Regions from separate parts of the Homo sapiens genome. Here all the other regions are linked to region 1. The links are contacts of gene promoters, found by promoter capture Hi-C in blood cells and fetal thymus (Javierre and others, 2016). All regions are on one chromosome and are shown on one strand. The core of a region is centred on a gene start or on the middle of the fragment in contact, and the rest is flanking DNA. Distances in the headings are between cores, read along the strand shown.

Region 1 (4,239 bases), core at 712-3,211:
AGTTACCCCGGGATGCAGTCACAGGCTAGCCACCCAATGTATCTTGGGTTTCAAACATTTAAAAGTCATGGTATCTCAGTATGCTGCCATGGGATTAAAAAAAGAGGAAGAAAGAAAAAGTTGGCTGGGCGCAGTGGCTCACACCTGTAATCCCAACAGTTTGGGAGGCAGAGGCGGGTGAATCACCTGAGGTCAGGAGTTTGAGACCAGCCTAGCCAACATGGTGAAACCCCATCTCTACTACAAATACAAAATTAGCCGGGTGTGGTGGCGGGTGCCTGTAATCCCAGCTACTCAGAAGGCTGAGGCAGGAGAATCGCTTGAACCTGGGAGGCGGAGGTTGCGGTGAGTGGAGATCGCATCACTGCACTCCGGTCTGGGCGACAGAGCAAGACTTCCTCTCAAAAAAAAAAAAAAAAAAAAAAAAAGTTGTTCAGGCCAGGCGTGGTGGCTCATGGCCCATGCCTGTAGTCCCAACACTTTGGGAGGCTGAGATGGGTGGATCCCTCGAGCTCGGAAGTTTGAGACCAGCCTGGGCAACATGGCAAGACCCTGTTTCTAGTAAAAATACAAAAAAAATAGCCGGGCATAGTGGTACACACCTGCAGTCTCAACTACTCAGGAGGCTGAGGTAGGAGGATCAGTTGAGCCCAGTGGGGAGAGGTTGCAGTGAGCTAAGATCGCGCCTAGCCAACATGGTGAAACTCCATCTCACTACAAATACAAAAATTAGCCGGGTGTGGTGGCAGGTGCCTGTAATCCCAGCTACTCAGAAGGCTGAGGCAGGAGAATCGCTTGAACCTGGGAGGCGGGGGTCGCAGTGAGCCGAGATCGCGAGACTCTGTCTCTAAATAAATAAATTAATTAAATTAAATAAAACGCCCGATTAAAATGTGAAACCTCCATCAAATAAGTGCAAATTAAAGCCACAGTGAAATGGTATTGTTTCCCCAATCTGACTGAAGATTACAAAGTGTGGCAACGCGCGGTGCTGACTTAGGCAGGGCGGGAGGGGCGGGCCTGTCTCAGCCTGTGGCGATTTGGTGGCATCTGGCAAAAGCCACTCTCCAGACGCAGGCCCTTTAACCCCGTAAGCCCGGGCCAAGGACGACTCACCGGGGCCACCTTGCTTGTGGGTGGGATGGGGCCTCTGGCATGAACGAGAGTGACTCCGAGTGGGTAAAGATGCCCTCCTCGCAGAGGACACGAAGCAACAAGGAAAACAGCCACCACGTAATAAGCGACATGCCAGAATAGAAGGATTCTTTAGTACAATCTTTGCTTTTTTCAAAGAAAACACGCGCGCCTCTCATTCGCGTTTGCTCCCTTCCCGGCGCTCATCCGCCCTGAACTCCAGCCTGGGGCGCCCGTGGCCGCGAGACCCAGGGGCTCTGAGCGCAGCAGGCGCCCAGTGACTGCGGGTGGAGGCCCCGCGTCGCGCAAGCTGCCTCCGCGCCAGGGAGCGCGTGCGCCTCGTAGCGCGTCCCGGGGCCGCCCCTGCGCCCTCGCGTCCCAGCATCCCAGAGCCCCGGCCCTGGCCCCGGGAGTGGCTCGCGAGGAACAGCTGGGACGCGCTCCCTGGCGCTCGGACCCGTACTGGGGTCCTCGGAATCCTCAGGTCCCAGGGAGTTTCAGACCCGGCCAGGGTGGGGGACCCTCGGGGAGCCGGCCGGGGACCCCAGGGAGGGGAGCGGCAATGGCGGAACGCCCACTGGAATTTGGGCCAGAGCTGGAGCGGCCCGTCTGGGCTCGACCCCACGACGCGACTCCAGACGGGCCAACGGGGCGGTCCCCACCGGGGTGGGCCCCGCGCGGCGCTCACCCAGTATCTCCTTGCGCCGCTGCGTGTGCGGCTGGTCGGTGTAGACCCACTCGAAGTCGCTGCGGCTCGCGCTGTTGCCCATGGTGGGGCGGGAGGCGCCGTTCGGAGCGCGGCCGGCTCGGCTCTGCTGCACCTGTCGCGGCGGCCGCGGCGCGGAACCAGCTCTGATTAGGGCGGGGGCGGGGTCCCGGCGGGGCGGGGCCAGGTGCGCCAGGCTTGGGGCGGGGCACCTCTGGCTGGGCGGGGCGGCCGGGCCCCGGCGCTCTCCAGACCCCGGCGGGTAGCTGGCGCTTTGGGAACCTCAGTTGCCTCGGTTGGAAATGGGGCTCCCCGGCAGGACCGAGGTGGCCGCGTGCCATCTGCGCGAGTCCCTGGGTCCCTCGATGCGCGGGGGCGACTGCTGCCACCGCGGCCTCCCACCGGCTCTGCGCGCCCCGCCCACCCGCGGGCAGCCGTCGGGTTTTTACCCCGGCCCGTTCTCTCCGCAGCCCCGACCCGCTCGCGGGCACGCCCCTGTGGCTCGCGCCGCCCCTGCCCCAAGGAGGAGCGGCTGGCAGGATAGGGGGACTGCGGAGGATCGGCGTGGAATGGATGCGACGGTGCCAGTAAACAGGCGCCGAGGAAAGGTTGGTGCAGCAATCCTCCCTTCCTCCACCCGGCCCTTTCACCAATAATGCAAAGGGGAGATAATGCGTCTGCAGCAACCTCACAGGGATGAGTCAGACCCACTCCTGCCTTCAGGGAACTTGAGTTCTGGATGGGGACACAGGTACAGAAGTGGCTGTTATGATTCAGGGTGATACGTGCCATGACACAGGTAGGCCCTGAAGCAGCTAGGATCCAATAGAAGGAACTTTTGCATTGGGCCTTGAGGGGTGGGTAGGAGTTCAACAGCTAGAAAAGGGAAAGGCATTGGTGCTAGGGGGAACAGCAGATGCAAACGCTTGGAAACAAGGCAGAACCTGAATGTTCTCAAATGGAAAGTCTAGTTTTGGGGAGGTAAGGGCACAGGGCCCCTCATCTTCACCCTCTCAGTGATGCCTCTGTTCCTTCTCCCACTCCCTTGGAGTTTTGGAGGGTGGACCTGCTGTGCCTGTGGGCCAGAGCCTGGCCTCGGCTGGCAGTTGCCTGGGAGCTGACTGACACATCAGCCAGCGCTGCCACAGGCTCGCACATAGTGAGGGCGTGCTTCTGTGCGTCCCATGGAAGTCCATGGCCCGGGGTTTGGTACACTTGGCAGGCCTTCCTTAGCTCAGGGCCAAAGGCAGTCCTGAGTGAGCCAGGAAGGAAGGCATGGGTGTCCTGCAGCCGCCAGCCACCATCCCCTGAATTAGCCATGGGAAAGGTGGACACAGAGGCCAGATTTTCCATCAGCAGGGGGACCCACATGCCACCATGGCCATCACCCCTTGCCACACCCAGGAGGCCTCCCGGCCCAGCTTGCACCCTTGGGAGAAGACTCATTGCTCCCAGGGCAGCCTGCTCTGTTCCCAGCCAGAAGGGTCCTCAGAAGTCATCCCACCAGCCATCACTTTACAGATCAGGAGACTGAGGCCCAGAGATGAGGAGCGCCTTGCCTGAGGCACAGAGGAATTAACAGCAAGGCTGGGGCATGACTTTGGCCCCTGACCTTTGAATTAAAAAGCTTCCAAAATCAGAGCCTTCGCCCCTGTGTTGAACTCCGTGAGATCTGCCGCCCTGAGCCCCAGCTCCACCCTCAGGACAACACCAAGCCTGCCAGTTCCCTCTGCCCCAGGCCACCGCCTATCCAGAGGAAACTCACCAAGGCCCTCATTTTCCAGATGAGGAAACTGAGGCCAGAGAGGGGACAAGTCAGAGGACATGCTGAAGAAGACCTGGGAGTGGAACAGACACCCAGGATGCATGAAATCAAGTCTGATGCCCTTGCCAAGTGCTCCCCAAGTCCCTGGGGAGCCAGAAACCCAGCTTCACGGTGTTGACGAGCCAGGAGCACATACTGTTGCGTCCCCACCCTGTCCGTTGTCCCAGAAATGACAGAAAATACATTTTCGTTTGTAATGTGGTGTCTTGAATGGGATCCTGGAGCAGAAAAAGGACATTAGGTAAAGCTAAGGAAAGCCTAGTAAAGCTGGACCATAGTTAATCATAGTGTATCAATATTGGTCCATCAAAGGCAACAAATGCACCATATTATAAGATATTAAAATAAAGGAAACTGGGTGTGGCATATATGTGAACTTTCTAAACTATCATCACAGTTTTTCTGTAAATATAAAGCTGTTCTGAAAAATAAAGTTTATGGCCGGGCATGGTGGCTCACGCCTGTAATCCCAGCACTTTGGGAGGCTGAGGTAGGCAGATCACCTGAGCTCAGGAGTTCGAGACCAGTCTGGCCAACATAGTGAAATCCCGTCTCTACTAAAAATACAAAAATT
Region 2 (4,239 bases), core at 1,270-3,769, 240 kb before region 1:
CCACATCTCACCTTCACCAGTGATAATTCTTCCTCTCCTGGGAGGCCCAAGTCCAGTCGTCTGTACCGCGAAGCCTTGGCCCAGCTTCCCAGTGTCACCTCATCCCTCCCTCCCCTGTGTATCTCTTTCATGGATCTCTTTCATGGATCATTCCATCTTGTATCCGAGTTAGTGATGACTGTGTGTGTGTTCCACTGGATCAAAACCTAGAACATGCCTTGCTCATCTCATGATCCTTCCAGGCCTCCATAGTGTTTTGCACCCAGTGGGCACTCACCCAGTCTCCGTGTCATGGAGTTGGGTGCCGTGGTTGTCTTTCTGGAGCAATCAAGCACACTATTCAGTGAGCTTACCACTCAGCACGGGGAGTCAACTGAAGGGGCTGGGTTCTATAAGCTGTGACTTTGTAGAAGGGCATTTACCTGTCTTTCATCAGATTACTGTAGAAATGAGAGGATGTAAGACAAAAAGGGAAAAATCCTAAAAGGACAGAAATTTAAGTCAGGCTCAATGGCTTACACCTATAATCCCAGCACTTTGGGAGGCAGAGACAGGAGGATCACTTGAGCCCAGGAATTCGAGACCAGCCTGGGCAGCATAGGGAGACTCCATCTCTACAAAATTAAAAATTAAAAAATTAGCCAGGTGTGGTGACACACACCTGTAGTCCCAGCTGCTTCAGAGGCTGAGCCAGGAGTGTCACTTGTGCTGCAATAAGTCATGATCATGCCATTGTACTCCAGCCTGTGCAATAGAGTGAGATCCTGCCTCAAAAAAGGGTGGGGGTAGGTAGAAATTTAGCATTATTGAAACGCAGCATTCATTCAAGCAGGAAAACATTTTTCTCTAGAAAAGAGACTTTTCAAATAGAGCCATATAGCCCTAAGGAATTAGAAGTGTGAGCGTTTGTGTGTGCACGCACTCACGTGTGTGTGTTTTATGCTATAGTGTTCTATCTGTTCATCAATTTACACTTCCTTTAAAATATTTTAGGATCCAGCTCAGTCTTCTGGTTTTCATCCTTCAGGGTCTGTGGTTGCAGTCGGAACACTCACTGGGAGGTAAGTCCATGCCAACAGCGCTTGTGCTTGCAAAGCTTATGGAAAAGAGGCCTGTTGTTTCTATTTCCCCAGGAACAGGCCCCCGTTCAGCTCTTGGCTACATGTTCGAAGCTTCTAATGACTTACCAAGAATTAAGTTAAAAGCGAAACTTGAAACAGTGGCCCATTACATTTTGAGCCTTGGGGAATCTGAGGAAAGCCATAGACCCTCTCTCCTGGAAAAGGACCCTCTACCTCCACTAGACACACACACACTTTTTTTGTTTGTTTTTTGAGACAGGTCTCTCCTTGTCACCCAGACTGAAGTGCAGTGGCACAATCACAGCTTACTGCAGCCTCCAGGGCTTAAGTGATCCTCCCACCTCAGCCTCCCAAGTAGCTGGGACTACAGGCATGCACTGCCATGCTCAACTAATATTTTATCTTTTGTAGAGACGCAGGTCTCACTGTGTTGCCCAGGCTGGTCTTGAGCTCTAGCTCAAGCAGTCCTCCCACCTCGGTCTCCCAAAGTGCTGAGATCACAGGCATGAGGCACCACACCCAGCCACACACACATTTTGCCTACAATCTCGAGGATTTGTGGAGCTTCTCAAGCCCTGATCTTGAGGCTGTGGGAGAAGCCTTGATTTTGGAATGAAGCAAGAAAACATTTCAAAGTGCTGAGCATTTAAAAATGCTTTTTCTACTCCTGGTCACAGTGGCTCACACTTGTAATCCCAACCCTTTGAGAGGCCTAGGCAGGAAGATCGTTTGAGGCTAGGAGTTCGAGACCAGCCTGGGCAACACAGCAAGACCCTATCTCTATAAAAAATTTAAAATTGAGCTGGATATGGTGGTCCACATCTGTATTAGCTACTCAGGAGGCTAAGGCAGGGGGATCTCTTAAGATCAGGAGTTCGAGGCTGCATCGCACTATGATTGCACCACTGTACCCTCGCCTAAGCCACACAGCGAGACCCCATCTCTAAAAAAAATTAAAAATAGAAAATAAATGCTTTTTCTAGCTGCCCTTTCAAAATTTCAGGAACTGCCCAGACCCTGAGCCTCATATTCCAATTGAGTTAATACCTATTCACCTGGCACCTCCTACACACCGGATGGTGGGTCTGCGTTTGCAGCTCAGCTTTGCCACTTAGCAGCAGTGTCTTTGAGCCGGTTACATAAGCTCTCTGAATTTGTTTCTTTTTCTGTAAATTGTGATATTCCCTGCCTGGCTGTGTTGCACTGAGGATCGAAGGAGACAGTGCACACAGCACCTGCCAGGGCTGCCCATCAGGCACTGCAGGGGTTATTATTATCATTGCTTTCCAGGTTTTGATTGAACATTTATGCTGCTCATTGTACTGTATACATTTACTGTGGTTTCAGTCAAATATTTTTCCTCCCACCCTTCCTCTCTAAAAAAGCGTAGCACTTAAATTCTGTTGCTATGACTGCAGAGCCTATATGGATAAAGAAAGTGTAGCCCTTTGCAGGTCATAGGTAGCAATATCTTAAGTATTGGGCTCCATGTAGCCAACAGAATTCTTCATGAAAACGTTTGTATAGCCACACACACACATACGCATGCACACAGACACACACACACACACACACACACACACACACACACACTCCACCTCCCATTTGACTCTCTTTGAGACAGGTAAACCTTCTAACTCATCAGGCTCCCACCTTCTGATGACTGGCCTCCCAATAGGCTGACGGATGCCAGCATGCCTACTGTGTGTGTAGGACACGGTGACAGTGCTCAGAATCACAGTGTCCCATGGTGGAGGAGATGGATCGGGTCACCTAATCCAGCCCCTCATCTGTACCTCTTGCCATTCAGGTCCTAGGTTAGGCTTAGCTCCCGATGCTGTTGATTTAACAGGTCACTTCAAAGCCATGTTCTAATCAGCCCCAGCCTTTATTAAGGTTAAATAGCACATTAAAGGTAAATGGTTGTTGAAGATGCAAGAAATTGGCACTGAAAAGCAAAATCCACATTTCTGGGGGGCAGGACATCTGACAGTGCCTGGCTAGGGGGGCTCCTGTGGAAGACAAGGGACACTCACTCTGCGTCAGTGGACATGCTGATGGGATGTCCTCAGGCAGGTTAGAAACTGCAGCAACAGTTTATCCATTTATCCTTATCCATTTATCCATTTATCCTGAAAACACCAGGGGCTCACCACCACCCCTTGAGAATATAACAGGCAGGAGAGTTCAGTCATTCTGATGTTAACACTCATTTAGTGGGTACTGTGTGCTTATCAGAGGATACAAAGCACTTCCATGTCCATTATCATTCGACTTTAATATTGAGCCTGCAGAGTAGACCTGGGCTCTTCTCCCCATCTCACCACTGAGGAAATGGCCCAGCGAGGTGAAATTAGAAGACCAGTCCTCCACTCCAATTTCTCCCATTTGCTCTGTGCTTTCCCTCGCCCTGTTGGTTGCAGGCTAGCATCCCCATAAGGCCTGTACTCTTGGCCTGCTCTGTCTGCAGCACCATTGGGAACACCACCACCCCGGAGTTGTCCCAGCCCCATCCTCCTGCATGGTCCTGCTTCGCCCTGGAAACCTGGGTGAGCTCTTGCAGGTGGTCCTTCACTGCTTCCTCTCACCATATGCCCTGGCACTAGGTATTGGCATCTTCCCTGCCCAGAGCTTTCTCTCCATGTGTAAATGACAAAGCACAAACACAGAGAAACCATGTCATAGTGTTGATAATGGCATAGTTTTGAATGCTAGCCAATATGCTGTTCCTTTCATTAGAAAATGCTTATATATAGGAAATTTTCTTTGAATGAAAGCTGGGAACAAGCTTTCTTATTAAGCAAATTCTGAGTATTTATTAAGCTTTTATGATTAACAATTTTTATTCATCCCACTATTATATAATCTTCATTTTCTTATTAAACAACTTACTGTGCTTTTTCTCATGTTGATAACAGGTGGTTTGTGTTTGACACAGAAACAAAAGACTTGGTCACCGTTCACACAGATGGAAACGAACAGCTCTCTGTAATGCGATACTCACCAGGTTAGACTCCAAACCATTCACTACTTTATTTTTTTAATCAACTTTTATTTTAAGTTCTGGAGTCCATGTGCAGGATGTGTCGGTTTGTTACATAGGTAAACGTGTGCCATGGTGGTTTAACGCACAGATCAACCCATCACCCACGTATTA
Region 3 (4,239 bases), core at 816-3,315, 230 kb after region 1:
CTGCTTGGGTCCTTCCTCTACGGCCAGCCCCTTGGTTGCGTGGTCTCTGGCAAGTTACCTCACTTCTGAGCCTTCATTTGAGTATCTATAAAGTGGAGAGAATTAAACATGCCTCGCTGGGTTTTTGTGAAAAGTAAACGATATTAGTTGTGAATCACCAAGTGCAATGCCTGGCACATAGCAGGCACTTAGTGTGTGCTCGAGTTCCTGCTTTTCCCCAAGAATTTCCTCCTTTCCTTGACTTGTGCTCATGTCTTATTTTACGTAAGTAGCCATGGAAGCATATCAGCTTCACCTACTAGACTTTAAGCTTCCTGAGCCAGAACCCATTTTTATATTCCCCAGCATCTGGCACAAAATTGTGTACATGTTAAGTGATCGATAAAAATTAAAACAAATTTTTTGGATTTTATCGCAAGCCTTTGGGAAGGGATTGTCTTTTGAGTGGATAAATCATATTCGCCACTAGGGTGCACAGTAAGACTTAATATAAGCAGCTCATCCAAGCTTCTAGAATGTGGAAGAATCCTTGATTCAAGGTAACATTTACTGAAAAATGATTTCTTTCTGATCAGGAGAAAAACAACACAGTCCAACTTATTAATCTAAAGAACATGGAGTGCCAGTTCCTTCATATCCTTAAAACGTAGCTTCGGAATTCATACATTTCAACTGGACACATTACAGTGGAAAGATACTTATTTTAATATGTTCTAAATGTTCTGTGAGCTGTAAAATATGCTTTTATTAGTTTTGAAAAATTTACAGCTAGAGAAATTAAGTAAAATAAAACAATGACTCATAATTCTGCACCGCTGCTCTTTCCTGACGATCCCTTCCTCCCCTTGTCTGTGAACGTGCTTGTTTTTTTCATAGCTGTGATCCCAGCACGGATACCCTTTTATATACTCTTTTCATCTCCCAGTGAACTCTTTTGGCTTAACGTGTTTGAACACCCACTGCACGTAAAGGTAGAAATTCAGACTTTGATGCCTTTTTTTGAAGGAAAACATGTACGTGGCCTGCGTTAACCAAAAACACAACCAGCCGTTATTGAATGCTCCCATGTACAGAACCCTCTGCCAGGCACTGAGAGGGAGTCCCAAAGGAATAAGACCTTTGGGTGGGTGACAGAAGACCCACCAGGGACCTTCTGTACCTGTATGAAAACCTGCAGTTCTGAAACACAGAAGGTTTTTAAAGAAAATATATGAATTAGATGTTGTTTATTTGCTTTACAGAATAATTTGCTCTAGAAATTCTTTCAGTAACAAGCTTCCTTAAAATACTTTGAAAAAAAACCTTTTAATTTTTGACCATGAATGTAATAGATGCTTATTGTGAAAAACTTTAATGATGCAGGAAATATGAAGTATGAAGGAGAAACAGAAATCATTGATAACTCCCAACCCCAAGTCAGTGCCTCATTAACATGAGGGGCCTCCCTGGTCGGGGGCCCTACATTCCTATCTGTTTACATAATTGGGCTTATTGCATAGTATGTGCAGTTTTGAATTCTTCCTCTGCTGCCCAATCTTCTGTAACGTGTAAGGGGAATTTTTCTACCTTATTAAAAACTTTTCCCCAAATATATTTTTATAACTGTCTCAAGTTTCATACTTTGCTCCATCATTTCCATGTTGTTTCCTATAATTTCCTGCTTTTGTTTAAAAAATAATCAGTATTACAGTGAATATGGCTATACATAAATATTGTCTTTTTTTGCTGCCTTAATGCAGTTAAGATGGGCTTTGAGGCCAGGCGCGGTGGCTCATGCCTGTAATCCCAGCACTTTGGGAGGCCGAGGCAGGCGGATCACGAGGTCAGGAGATTGAGACCATCTTGGCTAACATGGTGAAACCCCGTCTCTACTAAAAATACAAAAAATTAGCCGGGCGCGGTGGTGGGCGGCTGTAGTCCCAGCTGCTCGGGAGGCTGAGGCAGGAGAATGGCATGAACCCAGGAGGCGGAGCTTGCAGTGAGCCCAGATCGCACCACTGCACTCCAGCCTGGGTGAAAGAGCGAGACTCCATCTCAGAAAAAAAAAGAAAAAGATGGGCTTTGATTTACACCCAGGCATTAGCTAAAGCCCTTGTGTGTGGTGAGAGTGGGACCTGATTAGATTGGCAAACCTTCAGTACCACTGTTGTACTCCTTGGCTCCCATGCCAAATCTTCTGCTTGGTAGCTGTGTGACTTTGGGAAAATCACTTAGCCTCTCTGATCCCCTAGTTCCTCACTGGTAAAATGGGGATAATTGGTAAATGGCCACCAATTAAGGTTGTTGCTGTAGAGCTGAAATGAGAAGATCCAGCCTAGTGCCTGACAAGGGAGAGGCTGAGGAAGCATGTTTCTGATTCCCCTGTACCTGTCTTGATTAGTTATAAAACAAAGTGTAGAAAAGACAAATCACCCAGAATCCTCCAACTTACTGTAACTCTTGTTTTTTGTGAATCTTTTCATTGTCTCTATGCACACGTTTTTAAAGCGTTTCAATCTCAGTGTTCTTGAGATAAATACTTTTAGAATCTAAAGAGTTTGAGGATTGTCTGTGCCAAGCCATTCATGCACTCCCTTTTCATGTACTGAACACTTGGCAGGTCTGTGTTGGAGAGCTGGTTCCCTGTCCCCAAAGTGGTCACATTTAAAGCATGGATGAGAGGATGGAGAGCGCTAGCCATTGCTGAGTGCTTACCATGTACTAGGCATGTTCTAAACGCTCCGTCTCCTCTTCATTACAGGCCTGAGAGGCCACTTCTGTCCTCATTCCCATTTTACAGATGAGGAAATTGAGGCACAGAGAGGTCAAGAGACTTGTCCGTGGTCACACAGCTAGTAAATGATAGAGGCAAGCAGGGAAGCTTCAGACTCAGAGCCTGAGCAGAAAGAGCTACCACCACTCACGCTGCCCTCCTGCCTCTGAGAATAAGGGATGGAAAAGCGCATCCCCTTCACCCAGGTGGTGTCCAAGCTCTATCCCAGCTTCCAAATTTTGTGGTTCTGTTAAGGGACATACAGAGAAGAGATGATTTCTGGGGTGGTTTGGATTTGCATTTTTATGTATCACAGGATCCTGTTGATTTATCATTGTTAGTGAATCTGATTACATTAAGATATCTTAGATGTGCTTTGTAGAAAGTGATCTATTTCACATTCAAAGACAAGGGATTTATGGCTCTAAGTGCCAGAGTGAGGGTTTATTTCAGTTTTGAAAGAATTATTCTTGATGGATTTTACAAAATGAGATTGAGAAATGATTTGATGTGTGGAGTGAGGAGTTGTGGAGCATTATGCAGATGATTGGCAATTTATTCTAAGCACGAGGCAAATCTATTGGCAATGAGAGGCGCAGCTGGGAAGGAGGTTTGGGTGGTGGTAGTGGGCCTTTGGTATTTGGGGAGTGAATGATTAACAGTGCATCCAGGGTAATTAGATGAAGGTGAGGAGAGAATTGGTGATGTGTGTGTGCGCATGTGCGTGCATGCATAGCGTTCATCTGGTTCATTTGATAGAGGCCCATAGAGGGGAAGACACGCCCGAGGACACACAATAGGTGTTTGGATGCTTCCTAGTCTGGACACTATATTTGCTTCTCTTCTTTCCCACCTTCCAGAGGACTTTCAGAATCATCTGAATTACCCCAGGATTGGGAGTGTGGGGCTTTAGACTGGTTGGCAGCAGAGCTGCCGAGCCTCTGGGAAGAGCCATGAGATTCTGAGCTGGAATCTTCTCTTCGTGGGAAGTGAAGTTTTTTTGACACTCCTCCTCCCCCATGTGAAAGCCGCGACATTTCTGAGGCCAACAAATGAGACATTTCCCAGTTCCAGTTGCCTTACAATCTTGTATCTTACAGAAAAAACCTTGGGTTGAAGAGGAATAAGAAAAGGAAAGTGTAGCAGAACCCAAGCTGTGTTTTCTGCTTTTTAATAACTTCATTCCATTTAACTTAAACAGTTCAGTGTACCAAGGGCGGGGCCTTGTGCTCGCCAGAAGCTGACAGGAAGAAAACAGCCGTGTGAAGGTGCAGCCTCTGTCCTCGAGAAGCAAGCCTCATTCACTCTCATCCCATGTCATTAAGGGAAGGATAGAGCAATTTGGAAAAATGCTTTTAATGTAATTGAAAAATGCAGATTGCAAAATTGGCGCACTTAGGAGTCGAGACAGTCTAGTAAATTATTTCTTGTTGCTTTTAAAACTCGGAGACAGTAGACTCTTAAAGGTGCTTGTCTAATGCCCAGTG
Region 4 (4,239 bases), core at 1,740-4,239, 200 kb after region 1:
TCTCTAATCATAGGAGATACAATCCTATATGTAGGAAATCCTATCGAATCTGCAAAAAGAAAAAAAGCATTAGCGCTAATAAACTCAGCAAAATTTCAGGATATAAGATTAATACACAAACATCAATTGTATTTTTTTTTTTTTTGAGAGGGAGTTTTGCTCTTTTTGCCCGGGCTGGAGTGCAATGGCACGATCTCGGGTCACTGCCACCTCTGCCTCCTGGGTTCAAGTGATTCTCCTGCCTTAGCCTCTTGGGTAGCTGGGATTACAGGCGCCCACCACCATGCCTGCCCAATTTTGTATTTTTAGTAGAGATGTGGTTTCACCATGTTGGTCAGGCTGGTCTCGAACTCCTGACCTCAAGTGATCCACCCGCCTCGGCCTCCCAAAGTGTTGGGATTACAGGTGTAAGCCACCGTGCCCGGCCATCAGTTGTATTTCTATATAGTAGCAATGAACAATCAAAATGAGATTAAGAAAATGCCATTTAGAATAGCATTAAAAAGATAAAATTCTAATGAATAAATCTAAGCAAAGAAGTGCAAAACCTATACACTGAAAATTACAAAACATCAATGAAAGAAATCAAAGAAGTGAAAAGACATCCCATGTTCATGGATTAGATGAATTAATATTTTAAGATGGCAATACTCCACAAATGAATCTACAGATTCAGTGCAATCCCTATCAAAATCCTAGCTGCTGCTTTTGCAGAAATGGAAAAGCTGAAATTCATATGGAAATGCAAGGGGCCCAGAATACCTAAACAATCTTGAAAAAGAACCATGTTTGAGTACTCACATTTTCTTATTTTTTTTTGAGACGGAGTCTCACTGCCACCCAGGCTGGAGTGCAGTGGCGCGATCTCGGCTCACTGCAAGCTCCGCCTCCCGGGTTCATGCCATTCTCCTGCCTCAGCCTCCCGAGTAGCTGGGACTACAGGCGCCCATCACCACACCTGGCTAATTTTTTGTATTTTTAGTAGAGATGGGGTTTCACCGTGTTAGCCAGGATGGTCTCAATCTCCTGACCTCGTGATCCGCCTGCCTTGGCCTCCCAAAGTGCTGGGATTACAGACATGAGCCACTGCGCCCAGCCAAGAATAGTCTTTTCAAAAAACAGTGCTGGGACAATTGGATACCCACAAGCAAAAGAATGAAGTTGGAGCTGTACCTCACAAATATACAAAAATTAACTCAAAAAGGATCAGAAACTGAAATGTAAGAGCTAAAACCACAAAACTCTGAGAAGAAACCATAGGTGTAAATCTTCACAACCTTCGATTAGTCAGTGGTTTCTCAGATATGACACCAAAAACACAATCAATCAAAGATAAAATAAACTGGACTTCATCAAAATTAAAAACTTTCATACTTCAAAGGACTATCAGTAGAGTGAAGAGACAACCTATATAATGGGAGCAAATATTTGCAAGTAATATTTGAATAAGAAACTAGTATCCAGAATATAGAAAGAACTATTATAACTAACAATAAAAAGACAACCCAATTAAAAAGTAGGCAAAGGATCTGAATAGACATTTCTCTAAAGATATAAAAATTGTTAATAAGCACATGAAAAGATTCTCAACATCCTTGTCATTAGGGAAATACAATCAAAACCACAATGAAATACTACTTCACACCTATTAGGATGGCTATAAAACACAACAACATGGAAAATAACAAGAGTGGGTGAAGATGTGGAGAAATGGGAAGCTTCCTATGTTGCTGGTGGGAAAGTAAAATGATACAGTTGCTGTAGAAAAGTCTGTCAGTTCCTCAAAGAGTTAAACATGGAATTACTATATAAGCCATTAATTCTATTTCGAGGTATATGCCCAAGAGAATTGAAAACATATATCCACCCAAAAACTTGTATACAAATGGTCAGAGCAGCATTGTTGATAACCAAAAAGTGAAAATAACTCAAACGTCCATCAACTAATGAATGAATAAACAAAATGTGAGGTATATCCATTCAATGGAATATTATTTGGCAATAAAAAGGAATCCAGTATGGATACATGCTACAACATGGAGGAACCTTGAAAATGTTATGCCAAGTAAAAGAAGCCAGACACAAAAGGCCACATGTTACATGATCCCATTTATATAAAATGCCTAAATCTAGATATAGAGAAAGCAGACTAATGGTTGCCAGTGGGGAGGGAGAAATGGGGGATGACTGTTAACCCATTTATGCCTACCTACTGTTCCAAAATTGGAATGCTAAACTTGTGGGAGTTATTGATATCTTACTGCTCAAGGTGATTGCCAAGGTCTGATTTTTCACAAAAAATTTTTACAACTTCTGGCATAAATGGGTTAATGGGTAGAAGTTTCCTTTTGGGGTGATGAAATGTTTTGGAATTAGATAGTCTTGATGGTCTCACAACCTTGTGAATATACTAAAACCCACTTAACTGTACATTTAAAAAAATAAGTTTTATAGTATGTGAATTAAGGAAAATTTTTTATTATATTCCACCCAGAAAGTGGGTTGAGCAAGGCCTGGAGTTCTTTGCAGGTAGAATTTGAAGTGTTTGGGCAGACTGCTGGGCTCTGTCCTGGGGTTGTTCTCCTGTAAGCGTGAAGTGCCAGTAGAACAGAACAACCCTACATCAGATCATAAATTCCATGGACACAGCTTCAAAAAGGGGGCTGCCTCAGCCCAGATAACTGTAGGTTGGGAGAGGCAGAAACTCTTTTGGAACCTGCCCATATCTTGACGTTATCTGCGTGGAATTTACGGCCTAAGGTACAGATAATCTGTTCCATGCATTCTCTGTTGGTTTGTCTGTTGGTATTGTTTATGAGCAAGTCAATACAATAGGAGGAAGAGGGTTTGGAATTTCAGGAAGCCTACTGTTTGTCATGTGGGAAATGCTGATCTTGGACATATTATTCTCTTTTGTTTTCATGACATTTTATAATTTCTTTACAGCCTGTAATCTGGGAAGAATCTCACCTGCTATTAATATGATTCCCACCTTGTGAGGTGGGCAGTCTACAAATGAAAAAACTAAGAGCCTGAGGGTGATGGACAAGCATGATCCCACAGTGGGTTACTGACAGGACAGAGGATGGATCTCAGTCTTACCACAGCTGGCCATCACTTTTCCCACAGTACCAGGTGGCTTATGAAGAGAGTGTCTTACGATTTTTTTGAACTAAAAGAAGAGGACAGGTGAGAAGGCCTGTGGTGAAGAGCCCCTGACCTGTGTGAGAAGAAGATGCCTCTGCGCAGGAAGTGGTGTGGTCTTTGGCCGGTGGCTCTCTCTATTCGGTTTATTAGCTCTTTGTCAATTTTACTACTTCCAAACCGAACTGGAAAAAAAGAAAAGATGACTTTCTTAGGTGGCAGGAGGTTTAGTGATCAGATATTACTGAAATGAAGATGAAAAGTGAGTGATCCATGCACAATCTTAATGAACACAAACCTCTTTAGGCCTTCTGCTAAAGGTCCTTACCCCCAACATGAAGTAAAAGGTCTTTGGATTAAAACAACAGCTGAGATCAACACAACCAACAAAACAGGAAATAAATTACAACACAAAATGCTGTTTTGCCTGAGACTGGGTTCTGATGGGAAACATATTCAGAATGCAGTCCAGCTAGCAACTTTTGACAACAAAATATAAACATATACATATATAAATAGGTATATATATATATATTTGTTTATTAAGGTAAAATTTATATTCATTGACAACCATGATTTCTCACATTCTTTATTTGTTGAACTGAATTAATGTCGGTCTTCAAGTGAATTTTCCCTCATTGATAGTCTATACTGAAATCATGGAAAATGGCTTTGACTTAGATGAAAACATTTCAGTTCTGTTTCTTCTCTGATAATTAGCAATGATCTCAGAGTAAAGACTTCAATGGAATGGCAACAGTCTTTCCTGAGCAGGAAGGCCCTCAAGGAAGGGCATGACAGTAAGAACTTGCCCGATGTGAGAAGTCACTGCTCTTAAGCTGACTTCCAGCCTTCTAGGTCCATAGTCAGTATCACTGGAGGTGAAACCTAAGTAATCTATGATTGACTTGTAGCCACTAAATGTTATAAATGGCCATTTCAATAGACCTTTCCCAAGTTCTGAAGTGCTCAAAAAAAGGGAAAACCTTCTATTAAGCTGTCTACTATAGATCATTATTTTGAAATATATTTTATATTGTTATTTTATTTTAAAATAATCCTTTGGGAATATAATGCACAACCAAAAGATTTTAG
Region 5 (4,239 bases), core at 1,053-3,552, 190 kb before region 1:
TTTATTTATTTTTTCTTTGGTCACTTCTGCTTTTGGTGTCATATCTAAAAAGCCTCCGCCAAACTCAAGGTTATGAAGATTGCATGTATGTTTTCTTCTAAGAGTTTTATAGTTTTAGCTCTTATATGAAGGTCTGTGATCCATTTTGAGATAAAGTTTATGAATGATGTAAATAAGGTTTCAACTTTAGTCTTTTGCATGTGGGTATCTAGTTGTTTCAACACCATTTATTAAAGCCTGTTCTTTAACTTGGCGCCCCTGTTGATAATCAATTGACTGTAAAGTTAAGGGTTTATTTCTCAACTCTCTATCCTATTTTTTTTTCTTTGAGATGGAGTCTTGCTCTGTGGCCCAGGCTAGAGTGCAGTGGCGTGATCTTGACTCACTGCAACCTCCGCCTCCTGGGTTCAAGCGATTCTCCCGCCCTCAGTCTCCCGAATAGCTGGGACTACAGGCGCATGCCACCACACCCGGCTAATTTTTTGTATTTTTGGTAGAGATGGGGTTTCACCATGTTGGCCAGGCTGGTCTCGAACTCCTGACCTCAGGTGATCCACCTGCCTCAGCCTCCCAAAGTGCTGGGATTACAGGTGTGAGCCACCACTCCCTGCCTGGACTGTCTATTTTATTCCATCAATGTATATACCTGTACTTATTCTTTTTCAAGACTCTTCTGGCTATTCTATGGTCCCTTGCATTTCCAGATGAATTTTAGGATCAGCTTTCTAATTTCTGCACAAAATAAAAGTGGAAGCAGCTGGGATTTTGACAGGAATTGCATCGAATCTGTAGGTCAATTTGGGCTCTCTTGCCATTTTAATAATATTAGCTCTTTCAACCCATAAATGGATATCTTTCCGTTTATAGGTTTTCTTTAATTTCTTTCGGAGTCGTTTCATAGTTTTCAGTGTACAAGTCTTACACTTTTTTTGTTAAATTCATTCATAAGTATTTTATTGTTTTGATGTCATGTAAATAGAATTGTTTTCTTAACTTCATTTTCAGATTCTTCATAGCAAGTCTATCGAAATACAATTGATGTTTATATGTTTATCTTATATGCTTGGACCTTGCAGAACTTGTTTATTAGTTCTGATAGTTTTTGAGTGGGTTCCTTAGGAATTTCTATAGGTAAGATAATGTCATCTGAAAATAAAAATGGTTTTACCTGTTTTTGTCACTAAAGTTCTCTTGGAACACAGTGACATCCACTCACATATGGTCTATGGCTGTCTTCAAGTCAAAGGCCAAGGGAAGTAGTTGTGTTCCCGGAAGCAAGTCAGGTCCAGCTGCCTCTTCTTGAGTCCCAATAATGAGAAGCAGACAAACTAGCGAAGAAGGGAATTGGCCAGGTGCGGTGGCTCATGCCTGTAATCCCAGCACTTTGGGAGGCCGAGGCGGGCGGATCACCAGGTCAGGAGATCGAGACCATCCTGGCTAACATGGTGAAACCACGTCTCTACTAAAAATACAAAAAAAAAAAAAAAAAAAAAAAAAAAAATTAGCCTAGCGTGGTGGCGGGTGCCTGTAGTCCCAGCTACTTGGGAGGCTGAGGCAGGAGAATGGCGTGAACTCTGGAGGCGGAGTTGCAGCGAGCAGAGATTGCACCACTGCACTCCAGCCTGGGCGACAGAGTGAGACTCCGTCCCAAAAAAAAAAAAAAAAAGGGAATTTATTGCTGTAACCGGATACAGGCAGAAGGCCAGAGATAATTCCACCAGACCAACTCAAAGTGTTAGAATTGCTTATACAGGTTGGAGTTATGTGCCTACGTGCAGCACAACATTCGCCTAAGTCTATTGGTAACTAATTTTGTTTCAACTAGAAGGTCAGAGGCAAAAAAAAGCTTGTGGGAGACAGGCCCTTGGGGGTGGAGGTCTTTGATTTCATAAGAACCTGAGAAAGATTTTTCTAAGATATGTGTAACACACCAACTTACTGTGACCTGGGAAAGGCTGCTGAGGATGTCTTCAACAAAGGATATGGCTTTGGCATGGGGAAGATAGACCTGAAAACCAAGTCCTGTAGTGCAGTGGAATTTTCTACTTCTGGTCATGCTTACACTGATACAGGGAAAGCATCAGGCAACCTAGAACCCGAATGTAAGGTCTGTAACTATGGACTTACCTTCACTCAAAAACGGAACACAGACAATACTCTTGGGACAGAAATCTCTTTGGAGAATAAGTTGGCTAAAGGGTTGAAACTGAGTCTTGATACCATATTGGTACCAAACACAGGAAAGAAGAGTGGGGAATTGAAGGCCTCCTATAAATGGGATTGTTTTAGTGTTGGCAGTAATGTTGATCTAGATTTTTCCGGACCAACCATCTATGGCTGGGCTGTGTTGGTCTTTGAAGGGTGGCTTGCCGGCTATCAGATGAGTTTTGACACAGCCAAATCCAAATTGTCACAGAATAATTTCGCCCTGGGTTACGAGGCTGCAGACTTCCAGCTGCACACACATGTGACCGATGGCACTGAATTTGGAGGTTCTATCTACCAGAAGGTTAATGGGATTGAAATGTCAATAAACCTTGCTTGGACGGCTGGAGTAACAACACCCATTTTGGCATTGCTACTAAGTACAAGCTGGATTGTAGAACTTCTCTCTCTGCTAAAGTAAATAATGCCAGCCTGATTGGACTGGGTTATACTCAGACCCTTCGACCCGGAGTCAAATTGACCCTTTATCAGCTTTAATCGATGGAAACAACTTCAGTGCAGGAGGTCACAAGGTTGGCTTGGCGTTTGAACTGCAAGCTTAATGTGGTTTGAGGAAAGCATCAGATTTGTCCCTGGAAGTGAAGAGAAATGAACCCACCATGTTTTGGCCCTACAATCCTTCTGTGAAATTTCAAAAGTGTGAACTTTTTACTCTTCCAAAAAATTGTAATCCTCCCCACACTGAAGTCTAGGGGTTGTGAGTCCCTCCTGAGGGGAGGCGCTGGAAAGCATGCCTGGAAGCTGTCCTGTTTGTGCCACGTTTCGGTTCAGTTCTGCAGTGTTATTAAATGTGTTCCTCGGCGACAGTGTGGTGTCATGTTAGAGGAGACGATCTGAACCTCCAGTTTGTACCTCGTGTCCTGCATGTTCACACCATTTTTTTCATGACTCTGTAATATATTGGTCTCTGTGCTATTGTGGAATCTTTGATTTTGCATCAGAGTAAAATAAAATAAACCCATCACATTTGGAACATAAAAAAAAAAAAACAAGCTAAGTCTGATTAAGCTGTGTGGGCCCCAGTACCTTCAAGGCCTGTCTCCTGTGGTACCAGAGTGATTATTTCTATCTTATCTCCTTTACAGCTTGGTCTGGAGTGCTGCCTTAGACTCTCTGATGAATCTATTCAAACAGCTGCCTCTGTTACCTTGACTCGTCTCAGATTTTGTCGACCCGAGGCAGGTCCTGGCACTAGGAATGTTAGATTCTATTATTTTGACTTGCTCCAGGTTAGGGAGAAGCCCATGCAAGGCTTCTACTGACCGTATGCTTTATTTGTAGCTTTGATGTCTGGGCACCGATTGCCCTAGGTTTAACTATTTGCTCAGTGTTAAGGCAGCGCTGTGGAAATCTGTGTAACTGGGGTGCTGTGCAGGCCTGTCTGTCGACTGTCATACAGGCCCGTCTGTGTGATTGTCAGGGAGAATTGGCCTGCCACAGTTGTGACAGACCACATGGCTTTGAAAAAGCCAAAACTATTTACCAGCTGGTCCTTTGCAGAAAGTGTACTGACCCTTGTTCTGCAGGAGTGTCTTTTGTTTTTCACTGCCTCTAATTAATTTCTTAATTTTGAAATAATGTATTTTCTATTCTCAAGATTTTTTTGTTTGTTTTCCAATTGCTCTTAGGCAAGATCTTCTTGACTCTCCTCATCACTTCTCTACGATTCCCTCCTTTAGACATGCCACATTCTGACTGCGCAGCCTGGCGGGAAGACCGTGCCTCCCTGGGTGGGGAGGCTGCAGCCTTTAAACTTCCCAACACCCCGACCCCTGACACGTCTGCTCGCATTCGGATGCCCGGGCCTCCCGGCCTCCTTGCGAATGAAGTGCCGGCGGCTCCCACAAAGGCCTGGCTGCCACAGTCCCCACGGTAATTGCGAGACAGCAGGCAGGAGAAGTGAGCGGGAAGTTTCTTCCCCAAAGCTGATGGTGAACGGGCCCCCAAGCTGGGACCCGATGACTAGCTGGGAGTGAGGAGAGATTTTGGCTTTCCTAGGTGTGAGCTGGATGG
Region 6 (4,239 bases), core at 864-3,363, 160 kb before region 1:
TTATTTTTTTGAGACAAAGTCTTGCTCTTTTACCCGGGCTGGAGTGCTGTGGTGTGATCATGGCTCACTGTAGCTTTCACCACCTGGGCTCAAATAATTCTCCCACCTCAGTCTCCCAAGCAGCTGGGAACACAGATCTGCGCCACTATGCCTAGCTAATTTTTTTATTATTTGTAGAACCATGGACTTACTGTGTTGCCCAGTGTAGTCTCAAACGCGGCTCCAGTGATCCTCCCACCCCAGCCTCCCAAAGTGCTGGGATTACAGACATGAGCCCCTGCACTCCGCACAACAAAATATTTATTATATGCATAGTGGTGTTCCGGGTCTAAGATCTGACTCTCCTCAGCTTGTTCTTTCTCCTTCCCATGGATCTCTAATTTGAGATATTGTCTTATCACTTTAATGCTGTCAGAATAGAGGAGTATTTATTTTGTACAAGCATTGTTATCTGTATGCTGGGAGGAGATACATACACACACACATATATATACATGTCTGCATCTATAAAAGTTACTAGTTTTGTAAAAATCATACTTGCTCATTCTACAAATTTTGCAATACAGAAAAGTACAAAAATAAAGAATAAATCATCTGACATGCCTTGGAAATTAGTAGTAGTTAGCATTTTGGCTAACATGATTCCAAATTTTTTTTATACAAACATATATACAGATAAAAGCATAATAATAATGGAATAACTGTGTTTACTAGCGTTTATGTATGGTTCTAGGATGAGCAACTTTATATGCATTATATCATTTGATTCTCACAAAAAACCCTCCAAGATACATAATGTTGCCCCATTTTGCTCAGGAGGAAATTGGTGTTTAGAATAATGAAGTAAATTGTCCAAGGTCCAGTAATGGTCTCTGAATCTCAAGACCATGCTATTACACTATGTGGTGTATAATATTATGATGGTGCATAAGTGAGAATATACTGTCTATACTTTTATATTTGCTTTTTTATTTGATTTGTGGAAATGTTTATTATACTTTATAATTTATAAATTATAGTAATTTATAAATTTATAATAATTTTCTATAATGTTTTTATTCAACAGTAGTAATGTTCATGCAGTTAGTGAAGGGCTATATTTCTAGTGACTGGTACTCTGTTGTGTCTACCATACATTATTTGACCAGTCCCTTGCCAATGGATATTTAGTTTTTTGCTATTTGAAGTCACATAGGAATAAATATATTTGTGCCCTTTTGGTTTTAACTTATTCTGTAGTGATTAAGAGTACAGATTCTGGAGTCAGGCAGCCTGAATTTGAGTGTGATCAGCTCTGCCACTTTTGAACTATGTGATCATGAGCAAATTACTTTACCTCTCTGTCCCTCAGGTTCCTCATTTATCAAATGGGAAAAATAACAAGATCTCTTTGCCATTCCCTCAGGATTAAATCCGCTGACACATATAAAGAATGTAGAGCAGTGCCTGGGACATAATAAGTACTCAATAAACAGCACTTTAACTTTTAGCTAAATGTGGTGGCTCCTGTCTATAATCACAGCTATTCAGAAGGCTGAGGCAGGAGGATCACCTGAGGCCAGGAATTAGAGACCAGCCTGAGCAACACAAGACCCTGTCTCTAACACTTTTTAAAAAATTAAAATAAAACATGTCAGCCTTTATTTATGGGTGGTGGTAGGAATTCTTCCTTTGAGGCGCCATGGATTGCTTCTGCAGAGAGATGTCTGTGGACCCCTGGAGCTTACTATGAAGAGGGCATACTGTGGTGGGGGGTCACTCTCTTCCCCTGTGAGGCCATCAGCACAAAAGTTTGTGTTTTCTGGGATCAACAGATGCCCTCAGGGCAAAAGGGGCTCTGTGCTCATTTGTCTTTTGGGGAACCCCTGTTTTTCTCTTTAGTTTTTGCCTAGTAATTCTTTACTGTCTTCACAGCCATTTGAAGCCTTTAGAAGTGCTTTTTGTTTGCTTGCTTAACTGTGTTACCTGGCATTTTTGGTTATTTCACCAGAAACATTGATCTACAGCTAGTCCACCAGTATTGGAATGGAATAGGAAGTGTGAACCCCGAATATCTGAGATAGGTCTCAGTTAATTTAGAAAGTTTGTTTTGCCAAGGTTGAGGACACGTGTCCATCACACACCCTCAGGAGGTCCTGACAACGTGTGCCCAAGGTGGTCAGGGCACAACTTGGTTTTATACATTTTAGGGAGACATGAGACATCAGTCAATAAATGTAAGATGTACATTGATTTTGTCCAGAAAGGCAGGACAACTCAAGCAAGGATGGAGCTTCCAGGTCATAGGTAGATAAGAGACAAACTGTTGCATTCTTTTTTTTTTTTTTTTTTTTTTTTTGAGACGGAGTCTCGCTCTGTCACCCAGGCTGGAGTGCAGTGGCGCGATCTCTGCTCACTGCAACTTCCGCCTCCTGGGTTCAAACGATTCTCCTGCCTCAGCCTCCCGAGCAGCTGGGACTACAAGCGCGTGCCATCATGCCCGGCTCATTTCTTGTATTTTTAGTAAAGACGGGGTTTCACCGTTTTAGCCAGAATGGTCCCGATCTCCTGACCTCGTGATCCGCCCACCTCGGCCTCCCAAAGTGCTGGGATTACAAGCATGAGCTGTTGCATTCTTTTGCATTTCTGATGAGCCTTTCCAAAGGAGGCGATCAGGTATGCATTTATCTCAGTGAGCTGAGGGATGACTTTGAATAGAATGGTAGGCAGGTTTACCCTAAGCAGTTCCCAGTTTGACTTTTCCCTTTTGCTTAGTGAATTTGGGGCCCCAAGATTTATTTTTCTTTCACATTTACCCCCTTTTCTTTTTAAAAATCTCTTGGAGAAAGCATTTTTGGAGAAAGCATTTTAGAAGAAAATGAGTCTCTGGTCTCAGGTTTTGTCTGATCTCTCATGGCTAGGATGGTTTATTCCTAGACAGGTAGGTCCTGAGTTATTAGGAATTATATTAATAGAATAATATTAGGAATATTATTTTAGCAGGTTGAGAAGTCTCATGTCCTATGAAGAGAAAATAGGGGGAGGAAGGGAGAAAAACAACAACAAACAAAACAACAATCCTGGAAAATTGATAGAGGCCACGTTACTCTGAAGTCCATGTATCAGTAGGCAGGTATGAAAGTGGCTTATGTATGTAAATAGGTTGCTGTTATTTTCTTCTGAAGTTTAGTTGTCTGGATTAAGTTTGCAAGGCTTTAAGAAGCACAGCTTAGTTTTCAGTGATTTCAAATTAGGAAAAAACGGAAGGAAAAGGAAAAGAAAGAAAAAATTGAAAACATTATTTTGGAAACTTATAGCCAGGAAAAATTAGAATTCAGCCCAAACTATAGAAAATAATAAAAACTGGAAAACATTAGGACTAGAATCTAGCAACAGGTGTGTTATAGTTTTTGAAATAGAATTCGTCTCTCTCTCCAGTTTCCCGTTTTTACTAAAGACAAATCATGGTAGGACTGATTTGCTTTATTATACTTGGACAGATTATTTGTATAAAGTGCAGCGAGAGTAATTATTTCTCACATAGGCTTTTAAAATTGGCTTTGGTGGAACTTTGTTCCATTGAAGGAGTCTCAGATAAGGCTTTTTAAAAGACAAGCCCAGCCGTGGATTTGTACCATCAAATAACTATGAGTCAGGTGAATTTTTCTTCCTCTTGAAGTCCCATGATAACCTGGGGCTCCTGGGCCTGTCAGAAAGTGACATTCTTTACTTACCACAGGTCAGGAACCCTGTACAGGGACTGTGTAGACAAGGTATGAGGCTAGTTTTCCCAAGGGGATTTTATTGGCTCTGTAAGTTAAGTTTGATTCCTTAAAGGAAAGCATACCATTCTAGTCAAAGCCTTGGTAAAATAACCAGTTTCGCCTGTTACAAATGAAAACAAACTTTTATTGTACTTATGCAAATAACTATATTGCCATACATTAAGAATACTCACAGATAGTTTCCAAATTCTGGAGGAATCAAGTAGAGAGAAACAAATATCCTCCAAATTTTGTTCATAGGAGTATACCTAGTTTCTGTCAATAGCTCAAAAGAAAAGTTTCCTTGACTCTAAAAAACAAAGGATCAGCAACGTTTTAAGCAAAAAGTCAAAAAGATAACTTCAGTCCACTATTAGTTCAGTCCATGCAGTTAATTCCTGTTCTGCTTGATATCCATGAACATTTCGCTCTCCATGAGTCCTGAAAGTTTTTCGTCATCCTGATGTCACAATCTCCAAAGTTATCAGAAACCTGC
Region 7 (4,239 bases), core at 574-3,073, 150 kb after region 1:
AACAGTAGGTATTCCATAGTTGAGCTTCAGAAACCTCCTTGAGGCTGGGTTCAGTGGCTCATGCCTGTAATCCAGGCACTTTGGGAGGCTGAGGCAGGAGGATCGCTTGAAGCCAGGAGTTTGAGGCCAGCCTGGGCAACATAGTGAGGCCCCATCTCTAAAAAAAAAAAAAATCGGCAGGATGTGGTGGCGCATGCCTGCAGGCCTGTAGTCCTAGCTACTCAGGAGGCCGAGGCAGGAGGGTCGCTTGAGCCCAGGAGGTCAAGGCTGCAGTGAGCTATGATCGAACCATTGTGCACCAGCCTGGATGACAGAGCAAGACCCTATTTCAAAAAGAAAAACCTCCTTGCAGGGAGGGTCCTTTGTTGAGAGAGCTGAGGCAGGCCGTGTGAGGGCAGCAGTGGGATCGTGCCAGGCCTGGGAGATGAGGAGTGCGGGCCCTTAGCTGTGCACTTTGCAAGGAGAGGGCAGGGTTCTGGGTGTGTGTGTGTGGTCGGGGGAGGGCTGTTGGATTTGGGGACTAAGGTCAACATGTGGGGGACAGTGGAGGACTGGGCTCTGGGACAGATTTGCCTGACCTGACCCGCCAAGGGAGCCTCAGCTCCCTTGTGGGTGACAGGGGGCTGCCTTCAGCTGGAAGTACCCTGAGGGCAGGTCCCAGGTCTGTCCCCTTCATCTTGGTGTGCCCAGGGCCTGCACAGTTGACACTGGGTGGGGGACATTGGGGAGGGGGTGAGGACAGGCACTGGAAAGGGATGCGTCCACACGGGTGTGCTGCTGGGTTACTAAACTTTGCAAAACCACATCTTCCTGAGCACCCTGTTTCCCTGCTGCCTGGGAATCATGCACTCAGTCGGCGCACTGCCCTGTGCCCTGTGTTGGGGACAAGACAGACACAAATCCCTGACCTCCATGTCAGGGCTGAGGAGAGACCAGAAAGGAGGAGTGAAAAAGTTGGTGCCAAGTAAATGAATCCGTATGCCTACATCTTGGACACTTGGGTTCAGTGTCTATTGTTTTATTTCATTTCCTGAGGATAAGGTTACAGCACAGAATGTGCTTTCTCAAACTCCCATGTTCCACAGAGCCCTGGACCTCCCATCCCAGAGGAGGCAGGGCTCTGTGCAGCCCTGAGGACCCCAGCCTTTTAAGGGGCAGGGCAGACCCAAGGCCAGCACAGGACAGCAAGGCCGGAGGGACTGTCACGGGGCACCGAGGGTCAAGCCAGCTCACTGGAAAGGGTGTGTTGGAGTTTTCCCTGTGTACAGCTTTTATTCTCACACAAGACAGGTTCAGTGTGGAGAAATCAGAAACGCCAGAAAGTAAAAAGGAAACGCAAGTCTCTGTCCCCACCCTGGAATCTTGGAGCTGAATGACCCCCTGCAGGAGCTGTTTGGGCCAGGACTTGGGGGGGGTGGCTGCAACTCAGGCTGCCAGAGGGCAAGTTGAGGGGGAGAGGATGAGGCACCAGCTGTGTAGACCTTCCCAGGAGTTAGGCTGTGCAGGGGAGAGTGCACAGAAGGGCTCTGGCAGCAAGCACAGGTGTAGACTCGGGATGGGAGCCACCTGAGCAGGTTGCAAACTCCTGGCCAAAGATTGGTGGGGCCGGCGCGCTGTCAGTCGCCTCCTGTCTCATATTGGAATACTCGAGCTCAGTGCCATGGTGTGAGGCCCAGGGTAACCAGACTACAACCTCACCTCCCACCTTTCATGCCCTCTGGCCCTCTTATTGGAGCCCACCCTCTAAGCTTGTGCCCCTCTCAGGGCCTTGGCACTGGCAGCTCCTCTGAGTCCCTGGGGTCCTTGGGAAGGGGCCTAGTAGCCTGGGATTACAGGCACCCGACACCATGCCTGGCCAATTTTCTGTATTTTTAGTAGAGATGGGGTTTTGCCATGTTGGAAGCTTCTGCCTGGCCTGGCGTCGTTACCTCTAGAACTTGGGTTCTGGCTGGGCGTGGTGGCTCACGCCTGTAATCCCAGCACTTTGGGAGGCCGAGGCGGGTGGATCATGAGGTCAGGAGTTCAAGACCAGCCTGGCCAAGATGCTGAAACCCCGTCTCTGCTAAAAATACAAAAAAATTAGGCGCGGTGGCAGGCACCTGTAATCCCACCGACTCGGGAGGCTGAGGCAGGAGAATCGCTTGAACTCAGGTGGCGGAGGTTGCAGTGAGCCGAGATCTTGCCACTGCACTCCAGCCTGGGTGACAAGAGTAAGACTCCATCTCAAAAAAAAAAAAAATACAAAAATCAGCTGGGCGTGGTGGTGCATGCCTGTAATCCCAGCTAATTGGGAGGCTGAGGCAGGAGAATTGCTTGAACCTGGGAGTCAGAGGTTGCAGTGAGCCGAGATCACGCCACTGCCCTCCAGCCTGGCAACAGAGGGAGACTCTGTCTCAAAATAAATAAATAAATAAACAAACAGGATTTGGGTTCCTGCTCAATGCTTACCTCTTCAGAAGGGGCTTGGCTGACCTGCCATGGTCTGAATGTGTGTGTCCCCCCAAAGTTCATATGTTGAAGTCCTTTTTTTTAACTTTTAAGTTGAGGGGTACATGTGCAGGGTTGTCGTATAGGTAAACCCATGTCATGGGGGTGTGTTGTGCAGATTATTTTGTCACCTAGGTATTAAGCCTAATGCCCACTGATCCTCTCTCTCCTCCCCTCCACCCTTAGGTAGGCCCCAGTGTGTTTTGTTCCTCATATGCTGAAGTCTTAACCCCGGAGGTGATGGTGTTAGAAGCAGGGCCTTTGGGAGGTGATTAGGTTATGAGGGAATGGGATTGGTGCCGTGTGTGTGTGTGTGTGTGTGTGTGTGTGTGTGTGTGTGTGTGTGAGAGAGAGAGAGAGAGACAGGGTCTCGCTCTGTTGCCCAGCCAGAGTACAGTGGTGCAGTCACAGCTCACTGCTGCCTCAACCTCCTGGGCTCAAGCCATCCTCCCACCTCAGCCTCTTGAATAGCTGGAACCACAGGGGGCAGGTCGCCACGCTGTGCCCCACCAGCTTTGCCTCCTCCCAACCTGAGCAAGGGGCGAGCAGGCAGCCTTGGAGCCCAGCCTGGTGAGAGGACCCAGACTCTGCTCTGTCCTGCTGTGTGGCCTTGGCCACAGGTTTTCCCTCTCTAGACCTCTGGGGTTGGAATTGGCCAGTGGGTCCCTGTGGGGCTGAGTTGCCGCCACCTTGGCAAACAGCTAGGAAGGCAGATTTTGAGGCCCTGCCCCAGACCTAAGAAGTCAGCCCCAGGGAGCAGGTAGAGACAAAAGCTGCGTTTAAACCAGGCTCTTTAGTGGTTCTAAGGTGGCTGTGAAACTGTGGGTTGAGACCATCTCTAAGGATAGATTCAGGAAGATCCAACTTGAAGGGGTGGGTTGCCCCTCCACACCTATGGGTGTTTCTCGTTAGGTGGAACGAGAGACTTGGAAAAGAAAGAGACACAGAGACAAAGTATAGAGAAAGAAAAAAGGGGGCCCAGGGACCGGCGTTCAGCATACGGAGAATCCCGCCAGCCTCTGAGTTCCCTTAGTATTTATTGATCATTATTGGGTGTTTCTCGGAGAGGGGGATGTGTCAGGGTCATAGGATAATAGTGGAGAGAAGGTCAGCAGGTGAACACGTGAACAAAGGTCTCTGCATCATGAACAAAGTAAAGAATTAAGTGCTGTGCTTTAGATATGTATACACATAAACAGCTCAATGCCTTACAGAGCAGTATTGCTGCCCGCATGTCCCACCTCCAGCCCTAAGGCGGTTTTCCCCTATCTCAGTAGATGGAATATACAATCGGGTTTTACACCCAGACATTCCATTGCCCAGGGACGAGCGGGTGACAGATGCCTTCCTCTTGTCTCAACTGCAACGAGGGGTTCCTTCCTCTTTTACTAATCCTCCTCAGCACAGACCCTTTACGGGTGTCCGGCTGGAGGACGGTCAGGTCTTTCCCTTCCCACGAGGCCATATCTCAGGCTATCACATGGGGAGAAACCTTGGACAATACCTGGCTTTCCTAGGCAGAGGTCCTTGCGGGCTTCCGCGGTGTTTTGTGTCCCTGGGTACTTGAGATTAGGGAGTGGTGATGACTCTTAACAAGCATGCTGCCTTCAAGCATCTGTTTAACAAAGCACACCTTGCACGGCCCTTAATCCATTTAACCCTGAGTGGACACAGCACATGTTTCTGTGAGCACAGGGTTGGGGGTGGGGTTATAGGTTAACAGCATCTCGAGGCAGAAGAATTTTTCTTAGT

Evidence for each region. The method cuts DNA at HindIII sites, captures the fragments that hold promoters and counts their contacts. A CHiCAGO score of 5 or more calls a contact.
Region 2: a fragment that was not itself captured here is called in contact with the fragment with the promoter of DEGS2 in region 1 in 1 of 17 cell types (endothelial precursors); the score reaches 5.2 in endothelial precursors.
Region 3: a contact is called between a fragment that was not itself captured here and the fragment with the promoter of DEGS2 in region 1, in 1 of 17 cell types (total B cells). The highest score is 5.3, in total B cells.
Region 4: a fragment that was not itself captured here is called in contact with the fragment with the promoter of DEGS2 in region 1 in 1 of 17 cell types (total B cells); the score reaches 5.4 in total B cells.
Region 5: a contact is called between a fragment that was not itself captured here and the fragment with the promoter of DEGS2 in region 1, in 1 of 17 cell types (fetal thymus). The highest score is 5.5, in fetal thymus.
Region 6: a fragment that was not itself captured here is called in contact with the fragment with the promoter of DEGS2 in region 1 in 9 of 17 cell types (total CD8 T cells, total B cells, activated CD4 T cells and 6 more); the score reaches 7.2 in total CD8 T cells.
Region 7: a fragment that was not itself captured here is called in contact with the fragment with the promoter of DEGS2 in region 1 in 1 of 17 cell types (total B cells); the score reaches 5.1 in total B cells.

What each region holds. Positions count from the first base shown.
Region 1 is chr14:100,157,684-100,161,922 of GRCh38, forward strand. It overlaps DEGS2 (delta 4-desaturase, sphingolipid 2), which reads right to left and starts at 1,962. Exons shown (of 3, transcript NM_206918.3): 1 at 1,823-1,962. The coding sequence starts at 1,904. It overlaps LOC124903380 (a long non-coding RNA gene), which reads left to right and starts at 2,354. Exons shown (of 2, transcript XR_007064330.1): 1 at 2,354-2,448; 2 at 3,625-4,031. RefSeq lists silencers at 1,749-1,808, 1,909-2,308. The HindIII fragment of the contact is 5,862 bases long and covers 1-3,465 here.
Region 2 is chr14:99,916,789-99,921,027 of GRCh38, forward strand. EML1 (EMAP like 1) reads left to right here. Exons shown (of 22, transcript NM_004434.3): 16 at 994-1,061; 17 at 4,001-4,089. Among named protein-coding and RNA genes, the nearest start is that of EML1, 130 kb to the left of the region's middle. The HindIII fragment of the contact is 2,698 bases long and covers 1,171-3,868 here.
Region 3 is chr14:100,384,857-100,389,095 of GRCh38, forward strand. The region is part of intron 2 of WDR25 (WD repeat domain 25); the gene reads left to right. Among named protein-coding and RNA genes, the nearest start is that of WDR25, 10 kb to the left of the region's middle. The HindIII fragment of the contact is 1,585 bases long and covers 1,274-2,858 here.
Region 4 is chr14:100,357,334-100,361,572 of GRCh38, forward strand. It overlaps WARS1 (tryptophanyl-tRNA synthetase 1), which reads right to left. Exons shown (of 11, transcript NM_004184.4): 4 at 3,221-3,329. Among named protein-coding and RNA genes, the nearest start is that of WARS1, 16 kb to the right of the region's middle. The HindIII fragment of the contact is 2,546 bases long and covers 1,717-4,239 here.
Region 5 is chr14:99,962,611-99,966,849 of GRCh38, forward strand. It overlaps the pseudogene VDAC3P1. Among named protein-coding and RNA genes, the nearest start is that of EVL, 100 kb to the right of the region's middle. The HindIII fragment of the contact is 917 bases long and covers 1,845-2,761 here.
Region 6 is chr14:99,998,028-100,002,266 of GRCh38, forward strand. It overlaps a transcript of EVL not described here. Among named protein-coding and RNA genes, the nearest start is that of EVL, 65 kb to the right of the region's middle. The HindIII fragment of the contact is 5,752 bases long and covers 1-4,239 here.
Region 7 is chr14:100,308,438-100,312,676 of GRCh38, forward strand. No RefSeq gene overlaps it. Among named protein-coding and RNA genes, the nearest start is that of MIR345, 2.7 kb to the left of the region's middle. The HindIII fragment of the contact is 155 bases long and covers 1,747-1,901 here.